Linked DNA regions of Homo sapiens: region 1 is linked to region 2. The links are contacts of gene promoters, found by promoter capture Hi-C in blood cells and fetal thymus (Javierre and others, 2016). All regions are on one chromosome and are shown on one strand. The core of a region is centred on a gene start or on the middle of the fragment in contact, and the rest is flanking DNA. Distances in the headings are between cores, read along the strand shown. Region 1 overlaps FHAD1 (forkhead associated phosphopeptide binding domain 1). Region 2 holds the start of FHAD1-AS1 (FHAD1 antisense RNA 1).

The links. Contacts are between HindIII fragments. The CHiCAGO score rates a contact against its expected background, and 5 or more counts as called.
Region 1: a contact is called between a fragment that was not itself captured here and the fragment with the promoter of FHAD1-AS1 in region 2, in 5 of 17 cell types (M1 macrophages, endothelial precursors, M0 macrophages and 2 more). The highest score is 5.7, in M1 macrophages.

The regions. Positions count from the first base shown.
Region 1 is chr1:15,392,912-15,397,691 of GRCh38, reverse strand. FHAD1 (forkhead associated phosphopeptide binding domain 1) reads right to left here. Exons shown (of 34, transcript NM_001391957.1): 34 at 1-395. The coding sequence ends at 279. Among named protein-coding and RNA genes, the nearest start is that of EFHD2, 15 kb to the left of the region's middle. RefSeq lists a silencer at 458-625. The HindIII fragment of the contact is 881 bases long and covers 1,979-2,859 here.
Region 2 is chr1:15,342,092-15,347,113 of GRCh38, reverse strand. FHAD1-AS1 (FHAD1 antisense RNA 1) reads left to right here and starts at 3,231. Exons shown (of 2, transcript NR_148919.1): 1 at 3,231-3,338. FHAD1 (forkhead associated phosphopeptide binding domain 1) reads right to left here. Exons shown (of 34, transcript NM_001391957.1): 17 at 1,924-2,031; 18 at 1,591-1,698. RefSeq lists an enhancer at 1,122-1,321. The HindIII fragment of the contact is 5,872 bases long and covers 1-5,022 here.

The sequences.
Region 1 (4,780 bases), core at 1,170-3,669, 51 kb before region 2:
ACATAATTATATCTACCAGGCCTGGACATCTGGGTTACACACTTCTATTCTTCATATACCTGAGTTCGTGTACATTCATAGGTATTTTTAAAGAAGAACCCTTCTCCCCACAGTCTCCAAAATATAATATTGTTCAAAATACTGGTCTAGGAAATGAAACACTAGGGTAACAATCTTTAAAGACTTACAAAAGCAACTCAGTATTTTGACACAGATGACACAGAAGAGTCACATGAACTCACAGAGGATCACATGAGGCCTGGTGGGACGAGGTTTCTCTAGTACTTTCCACTGGGCTTAGAATGCAAAAGGCTCTGGCTGGACTTGCTGGAGGTCTCTTTCCTCAGCATCTCTCTTTCTTGGTCCATCTTTAGGGAGGCTTTTCTGGTTCCAACCTTTAACAAGCAAGAGAAAAAACACACAAACTCCATTGCAGCAAGACTCCAATTGTTCCACTCAAGTGGTTTTGTTATTTTTTATTTTATTTAATTTTTTTTTTTTGAGACGGAGTCTCGCTCTATCGCCCAGGCTGGAGTGCAGTGGTGTGATCTCGGCTCACTGCAAGCTCCGCCTCCTGGGTTCATGCCATTCTCCTGCCTCAGCCTCCCGAGTAGCTGGGACTACAGGCGCCCGCCACCACGCCCAGCTAATTTTTTTTTTTTTTTTTTTTTAGTAGAGACGGGGTTTCACCGTGTTAGCCAGGATGGTCTTGATCTCCTGACCTCGTGATCCGCCCGTCTTGGCCTCCCAAAGTGCTGAGATTACAGGCTTGAGCCACCGCACCCAGCCTTATTTAATTATTTTTAACATGAGGAGAACTAGACACTTCCCATGTATTTTATTGTATTGTACTTATTTATTTACTTATTATTATTATTTTTTGAGACAGAGTCTTGTTCTGTGGCCCAGGCTGGAGTGCAGTGGCATGATCTCTGCTCACTGCAACCTCGACCTCACGGATTCAAGTGATTCTCCTGCCTCAGCCTCCCAAGCAGCTGGGACTACAGGCACATGCCGCCACACCCGGCTAATTTTTGTATTTTTAGTAGAGATGGGGGTTTCACCATGTTGGTCAAGTTGGTCTGGAACTCCTGACCTCAAGTGATCTGCCTGCCTTGGCCTCCCACGGTGCTAGGATTACAGGCATAAGCCACCACACCCGGCTGGTTTTGTTATTTTTTTGTACACAAAATAAAATATTTGTTGTAAAAAATATATATATACACACACAGATATGAGCACAAAAGAGATAAAATGATTCATCATTATCACGTTACTCAAAGATGAGCTTTAGTGAGGTTTTGGGGTGCACCCTTCCAGGTATACAGATATTGCTTTCCTTTTCTCTATTTTTTCTTTTTTTTTTTCTTGATATGGGGTCTCACTCTGTTGCCCAGGCTGGAGTGCTGTGGAGCAATCCCCGCTCACTGCAGCCTCGACCTCCTCAGGCTCAGGTGATCCTCCAACCTCAGCCTCCCGAGTAAGCTGGGACTATAGGTGTGCACCACTATGCCCAACTAATTATTTTATTTTATTTTACTTTTTGTAGAGATGAGGTTTTGCCATGTTGCCCAGGCTGGTCTCGAGTTCCTGGGCTCAAGTGATCTGCTCTCCTTGGCCTCCCAAAGTGCTGGGATTACAGGTGTGAGCCACCAAGCCTGGTCCCTTTACATATTTTTTAGTTTGAAACCAGGAGGTTCTTACAGTAACACATTCATTGTGATGGTGTTTCTCCTGAAAGGCTGTTACTGACTTGAATGTGTCTAAAGTCTCTGATGGCTTAGAACTGGGTGTCCAAACTTTTGGCTTCCCTGGGCCACACTGGAAGAAGAATAGTCTTGGGCCACACGTAAAATACATTAACACTAATGGTAGCTGATGAGCTAAAAAAAAAATTATCCCATAATGTTTTAAGAAAGTTTACGAATTTGTGTTGGGCTGCATTTAAAGCTGTCCTGGGCTGCGGGTTGGACAAGCTTGGCTTAGAAGGAGAAAGTGAAGTATATTTAAGGGGGTCTGTTTAACCCCTTGAGCACTTCCCAGCTCAAAGGAGGGGGCGTCCTGGCAGCCGTGTGCATGACCCCACTCCCGGGCCATATTTGTTGGACACTTGGCACAGCTGGGCTTTTCCGATGCCCACTCCTAGGAGTCGGGGTAATGGGCTGTGAGATGCCACTCGCTCCCTGGGCTGGCCCTTTGAACTGGGGGACTGTGAGGCTGTCCCTTCTTGTCATACCACTGGAGAGAGAAGAAATCAGCAGAGGTATGGAGAGGGGCAGAAATGACATGGAGACGTGTGTGTGCCCGAGTGCATGCATGCACGAGAGAGACGATGCCTGGGCTATCCTCCTAGTTCTCTCCCGTAGCTTTTTTTTTTTTTTTTTGAGATGGAGTCTTGCTCTGTCGCCCAGGCTGGACTGCAGTGGCGTGATCTCTGCTCACCTCCGCCTCCCGGGTTCACGCCATTCTCCTGCCTCAGCCTCCCGAGTACCTGGGACAACAGGTGCCCGCCAGCATGCCCGGCTAATTTTTTTGTATTTTTTGTAGAGATGGGGTTTCACCATGTTAGCCAGGATGGTCTCAAACTCCTGACCTCATGATCCGCCCATCTCGGCCTCCCAAAGTGCTGGGATTACAGGCGTGAGCCACCGCACCCAGCCTTTCCCATAGGTTTTATGAGGCATTCATTTCTGTATCTTTATAAAAGCCCCCCGCCCTGCCCCTTTTCTGAGTAGATTTTTGTTAACTGCAACCCAAGATCTCTCTCGCAAACAATTCTGGACACACTGTGGATAATACTGTGGCTTGCAAGTTTCTTTCCAACAGGATTTACCTTGCCAACTCTGTTCCTGCAAAGCTTTGCCCCCAGCCTTCAGGCTGCACATACACCTGGGGCAAGAGGGCTGGGTGGCTAGTCGCGTTTCAGCTCTGCCACTCACTACATGACCCTCAGTTTCCTCATCTGCCAAATAGGGATGAATATCGATCCTGCCTTCCTCAGAGGGCACAGAGGAGATTCTGGGAAGATTTCAATGGAAGAGTCTGTTAGGACCATCACTTAAGCTCTTTTCACCTTAAGATGGATTTAAAAATCACCTCCTGAGGCCTGTGACAGTGGCTGACAGGAGCCTCAAACGTGTTTTGAGACTCTGCATTCAAGATTGTTTCAGGGCAAGAAAGGGTAAGTCAGTCCCATACCAGCCCACAAAGTAAATATTGGTCCAAATGCGCAGGGAAAAAGAAAACAGACAGCAAACTCAAAAGCCTTCCCCCCTAAACAACCCTTACTTTATATTCCTTTTCATTTGATTTTCAATAAAATTGCTGACTGTGGATGGTTTCCAAATGCCAGTGCCCTGAGCCGGTGTGGAGTTGGCTGTCAGAGTTGGAGCCAGGGAGTTTGTTAAAGAGTCCCAGGTCCCCAGGTCTCCAGCCCCAGGGCTGCCAGAAGCATGGGATGGGAAGCACCACGGAAGGGGCTTTGTTCTCTTTATGAAATGACAAAGGATGGGGCAGCAGAAGGCAGCCAGGACCGCTGACCTGGGAATGGGGAATGTGAAATGCACAGATTCCACTTGAGATATTTGGAACCACGTGCCTCACCCTTAGAATGAAAAGGCAGGGGTAGAAGCCGGTCATTTAAATAGCCACACCCAGGTGTGAATGAACTCAGGCCATCCTGGGGTGTCTGCTTCAGGAAACTGCAAGCCTCGGCTCTAGGAAGCCCCCTGCCCACTCCCACACAACCTCAGGTCTAAGTTTAAATATACGGTCCTCAGGAAGGCCTCTCCTGGAGCTTGGACTGGGAGTGAAGACGTCCCTGTGAAATATGCTCAGCTCAGTTCAGGGGCCTTTGTCCTCCAAACACTGGGCTCAAAGTTATTATTTAATCATTATGTGTATTTACTTAAAAAAAAAAAAAGAGGCCAGGGGCAGTGGCTCATGTCTAAAATCCCAGCACTTTGGGAGGCTGAGGTGGGAGGATCACTTGAGCCTGGGAAGTGGAGGTTGCAGTGAACTGAGATGGTGCCACTGCACTACAGCCTGGACCACAGAGCAAGACACGGTCTCCAAAAAAAAAAAAGCCCAAGACTGTAAGCCAGGCAGGCAGGCAGGGATCTTTATGTCTTCATTAGTCTAACTCTGTGTTTCTCAGCCTTTCTTTCACTATCAACCTCGCCCCCTGAGAATTCTTAGAGGTTTTTTCCCCAGCCCCTCACCCTTTTACAGATAGCAGTGTGTGTGTGTGTGTGTGTGTGTGCGTGTGTGTGTGTGTCCACATCTATGTAGATATGGCTATTGCTTTATACATAGAAAGAATGAATTTTTGGCCAGGCGCGGTGGCTCATGCCTGTAATCCCTCCACCTTGGAAGGGTGGACCTGAGGTCAGGAGTTCCAGACTACCCAGGCCAATATAGTGAAACCCCGTCTCTACTAAAAATACAAAAGTTAGCTGGGCGTGGTGGTGCATACCTGTAGTCCCAGCTACTCGGGAGGCTGAGGCAGGAGAATCGCTTGAACCTGGGAGGTGGAGGTTGCAGTGAGCCGAAATTGCACCACTGCACTCTAGCCTGGGCAATAGAGCAAGACTCTGTCTCAAAAAAAAAAAAAAAAAAAAGGAATGAATTTTTGCCCCCTCGGGGGTGATGCTGCCCCCACTGAGGATGCATCATCCAACCTTAACACCTGGACAGCCCTGCCACGTTGCTGACTCTTAATATCTGTTGTGCGAATGAGGGCCAGGGCAGTCTCTCTTTTTGTTCGCCCTTCTCTCCCCAG
Region 2 (5,022 bases), core at 1,982-4,481:
CCAAGGGAGAACCGACATGTAAACGTCTCTCTGTCCTGGGTCAGATCAAATGGCACAGGCTTTGCCCAGAGGTCTTTTTGTTTCTCCTGCAGCAGTGGGTGGGCAAGGATTTTACTCAAGGAGTCAGTGTTGAAGAAAAACAAATGCCCAAACAGAAGAAGAGGCACAAGTGGCAGCAGAGACAGTAGTAACAGCTGCCGTTTACTCGGCAATCATTCCGCAGGCCAGGCCCTCCATTATACACTAGATCTGAGCCCACAGCCGCCCCTTCGAGAAGGGAGGCAGCGGTAGGTCTGCTGCAGCCAGGAAGTAGCCCAGCTCGGATTTGAACTTGTGTCTCATCTGGCTGCAAAGCCCGCACTCCTCTGTGCTGTGTCAGGATTGAGGAATTCATGAAAGCAGATGTGAAAAAGGATCAGGGATCTGAGGGTGACCACAAGCTAAACATGAATCCACAAATGTGACAGAGCTTTCCCAAAAGCTAGTTTGGATGCATTAACAGAAGTAGAATATCTTCAATGCGGGAGGGAGGAGTCCTCCCCTAGGCTACCGTGGCTGGAGAACAGTGGTTCTGGCCACCTCCCTTTAGGAAGAAAATGGGTGATGGGTGACAAACTCAATGCCTATGAAGCCCGGACAGATACCAAAAATGACGTGGGCTGTGTTTAATGCAACGGGGAGTGGTGAGGACTCTGGCAAACTGCTGCTACCCGGTAAGGCTTCTAGTCCATTTTTGCTAAGTAGAAACAAGGGCTAGATTTTCTGACTTTTCGGGAGAGGCTGGAAATCTGAACTTTTAAATAGATTTTATGAATTCAAAGTAAAATATTCCGGGGCCAAATATAACTTCCACAGGCCCTTTTTAGTCGCTGAGCTACCAGTCTGTGACTTCTGGAGAGCAGCACAGGCCACAGGAGGCAGCCAGGGCCAGGCTCTAGTCCTGTGAGGGACCTGAGGAACAAGGGCGCTTGGGCCCGGGGAGGAGCAGACACAGGGTGCGGGCGCCCCTGTTTTCACACATCTGAGTCATCATGTGGAAGAGGAAGTAGATGTATCTTGTGGGAGCGCAGGGGAGGGCGGAGGACTGATACTCCTCCGGGGCGTAAGAGTTTGACACAACTCAACCTAAAGGGAAAACTTTCTGTCGGCCTGAGGCATCCATGCTGGGACGGACTGTCCTGGGGTGGAGAACATTCCTTAGTGGTGGTGCTGAAGGCTGGAGGCTTTTAGGATGCTGGTGGAGGGTCCACGCAGCCCTGAGGTCCCATGACTCTGTCATTCTCCCGTTTCTGTGCTTTGGAACACAGAAGACGCCCATGTCACCATTCCTACTTGTCTCCCAAGCGCTCTCTCTCTCTGACTGTGTTTTACACTGTTTACAATTTTTTCCCAACTGGTTGTCAAGGCTACAACTCCAGGGTTCCCTCCTTGAGTCTCCCACGCTTCCCAAAGTAGCTGAGCCCACCCAAACGCAAACTCCACGAGGAAGGCTCCACCACGATCTCACCCCCATCATCGCCGCTCTGAACTTCCTTCCACATGGCCCTCAAGCCGACTGGGGCTCAGCCGACTCTATCTCCCCGAGCGTACCTCCTTCTGGCGGGCCAAGCGTTCCTCCAGCTCTTGGACTCTTGTCTGCTCTTCCTCTAATGCTTCCTTCACTCTGTTCTTCTCCTGGGTAATGCTTTTCGCCAAAGCCTGAGTCAACGATCATTGTTCAATAGACATGGTTACCATGGGAGGAAACTGGACTCTGCCAGGCACCGCACAGGTTTCCTCTTCCCTCCAGACTACACCTCCCTAGGGGACTGTGGACAGCACAGCCCTGGAGCTCAGAGCCGGCGGGCCCAGACCAGAGCCCCAGATCCACCCTTCCTAGCTGCAGTGGGGCTCGAGCTGACTCTGTCTCCCTGAGCCACATACCTTCTTCTGCTGGGCCAGGAGGCTCTCCAGTTCTTGCATTCTCTTCCGTTCTTCCTCTAAAGTCTCTTTCGCTCTGTTTCTCTCTTGAGTAATGTACTCCTCCAAAGCCTGGAAACCAATGACCATTGTTTAACAGACATGGTTACCATGGCAGGAATTTGGACGCTGCCAGGCACTGCATGTGCTACCTCTTCACTCCTCACCGCACTCCCCTGGGGAGGCTGTGGGCAGCAGAGCCTAGGAGCTCAGAGCATGTGCTCTGGAGTCAGGAGACCCAGGGTAGAGCCCCAGGTTGATCCTTTCCAGCTGTAAGGCACTGGGGAAGTGAAGCTACCAGAGCCTCAGTTTCCCTGCCTGTACAACGGAGACAGTAATAGTCTTCCTGTGTTGGGTTGATGTGAGGGGTGGATGCGACGATGAACACGAAATGCTTGGCACAGTGATAACCATGCTTCCCACCTTGCAGAGGAGGAAACAGGCTTACATTCAAGAATCCACCCAGTTTACTAGTAAATCACAAGAGGAGGGATTCTAACTCTGACCCATTTGATTCTGAAGCCTGTGTTCTAAACCAGAGGTTAGCAAACTATGGCTTACAGACCAAATCTGGTCTGTTTTTGTAAATAAAGTTTTATTGGAACACTGTGCTTGCTGTGTATTGTCTATGGCTGCTTTTGCAGAAGAGCAGAGAGCATATGACCTGCAAAACTGAAAATATTTACTATCTGGCTCTTTATGGGACAATTTGGCCAATCCCTGATCTAACCCATTGGTGTGTGCACAAACCAAGGGATTGTTGTCAACAACTGGCAATAAGAAAAGAATGTTAGATTGATAAAGGAACATAGAATTTTTTTTCCCTTTGAAACAAAGTCCTCAAACAAGTCAAGATTCATGAGATTAATGACCCTGGACACATGTATTTTCGGAAAGGGCAGGTGATGGGAGTCAGAAGGTCTAAGGAAGGCTCATTTAGTCAGGACACTTGGCACTGAAGTCCAAGAGGTAACTTTCCAAGGAGTCCCCAGGGTCAAGTCCATCAATCCGAGTATCAGAGGAAGGGCGACCTTCGAGTGTCACAGTCTGTCTGGCAGGGACCTGATGTTGCTTCCTCCCTCTGCAAGGAGGGTAGGGTGCACCGAGGTTTTCAGGTTTAAAAGAGGGGCTGACGCCAGCTCTTAAAACACTCTGCCAGGCCAGTGTCGCCAGGGTTGTCTAGGAAGACTAGGCAGGCGCCCAACGCAGTGTTTAACATGGTGGGGCTGAAATACCAAACCCTGACAAGGGAAAAAGTCCATCCAAAATTAAAAAGAGAAAATAAGGCATTTGGGATGCCGATGTTAAAAGGAGAAGGTAATCAGAGAAGAAAAAAGGAAGTCGGTGGAGAGTTCTGCGAAGATTTTGAAGATTTCTAGGTACTTTCTGGTTTTATTTTCTTCTCTATGGAACGGTGCTGGCTTTTTCCGTATCTAAATGCCCTTCAAAATGTGCCCATCTTGATTTATAGCTATCATTAATATTACCTTTATGCGGATTGCACATGATTTGGTCAGATGGCTCTTCTTTTTTAATCTTTTATTTCGCAAATGCAGAAAAGCAGAGAAAGAGGCAAAGAGAAGAAGGAGGAGGAGACTGATGTTTTGGGGTAACTGGACACACATGTGAGGATGGAGATGAAAGAGGGAGAGGTCTGGAGGGCAGGTGTGTGTGGTAGAGAAGGAGCTGGGGAAAGATGGAGAAGGGGGCAGGTCCAGTACTCTTCCGGGGAAGAGAGGAGATATCTGGGAAGAGTTGGGGTCCGGTGGATCTGGGGGGCTGCTGTCTTGAGGGGGCTGTGAGGAGGGGCAGCATGCACACGCTGCTCCACACCCACCCACAACAGTGGCTCGCAACCGTGGCTGCACTTTGCGACCACCCGGGAGTGCTTAGAAATCCCACAGCAGGGGCCACACCCTCACCCCACTAAGATCAGAATGTGGAGAGTCGGCGGGGAGAGGTGCAAGGCATTAGTAATTTTTAATCTCCTAAATGACAAAAGTCATAAAGACAGTGAAATTCATGGGAGGGGTCCCTGAATATCAAAAAGGGCCAACCCTCAGGTATGGTGGCTCATACCTGTAATCCCAGAACTTTTGGAGGCTGAGGTGGGAGGATCACTTGATGCCAGGAGTCTGAGACCAGCCTGGGCAACATAGAGAGAGACCTCATTTCTACAAAAAATAAAAATATTAGCTGGGTGTGGTGGTGTGTGCCTGTGGTCCCAGCTACTTGAGAGACTGAGGTGGGAGGGTCACTTGAGCCCAGGAGTTCAAGACCAGCCTGGGCAACATTGCAAGATCCCATCTCTACAAAAAAAAATAATAATTAGCTGGGTGTAGTGCCATATGCCTGTGGTCCCAGCTACTTGGGAGGCTGAGGTGGGAGGACCACTGCAGCCTGGGAGTTCGAGGCTGTGGTGAGCTATGGTCACACTATTGCACTCCAGCCTGGGCAACAGAGCAAGACCCCATCTTAAGAAAAAAAAGGGCCAACTCTAGGACAGTGATGAGAATCAGCTCATTAAATAATACAGTTTCCTGGCCCTCTCCAGATGTTCTGATTTAATGGGTCTGGAGGGTGGAGACCAAGATCTGCATTTTTAGCAAAGCATCTGGATGGTTCTTATCAGGAAACTTTGGGAAAACCTTCCTCTAAGCCTTCGCCCTAAGAAAATGTGGATCTGCAGACTGGTAGCGTCAGTACCATCTGGGAGCTTGTTGAAAATGTAGCGTCTCAGGCCTGCTGAGACAGAATCTGCATCTTAACCAGATCCCCAGACAATTCATGGGCACGTTCGAGTTTTAGAGATGCTGCTATCTTCTAACTGGCTTGATTTCTAGAAAAGTCAGTAGCAATTTTGACCATTTGTTTCCCCCGATATGTATAAAGAGAAAGCAAAAGACTGAAATTTGTCATCTGAAGTTGATCTTGCGCACATTTAGAAACAGTCTGTCAGCTACAAACCAGGACCTGCAGCGATGACTCAGATCTCATAAAGCCGACTGCAATACATACACAAACAAGGCACCGTTTCCTGAAATTTCAATCATGCTGCCTTTT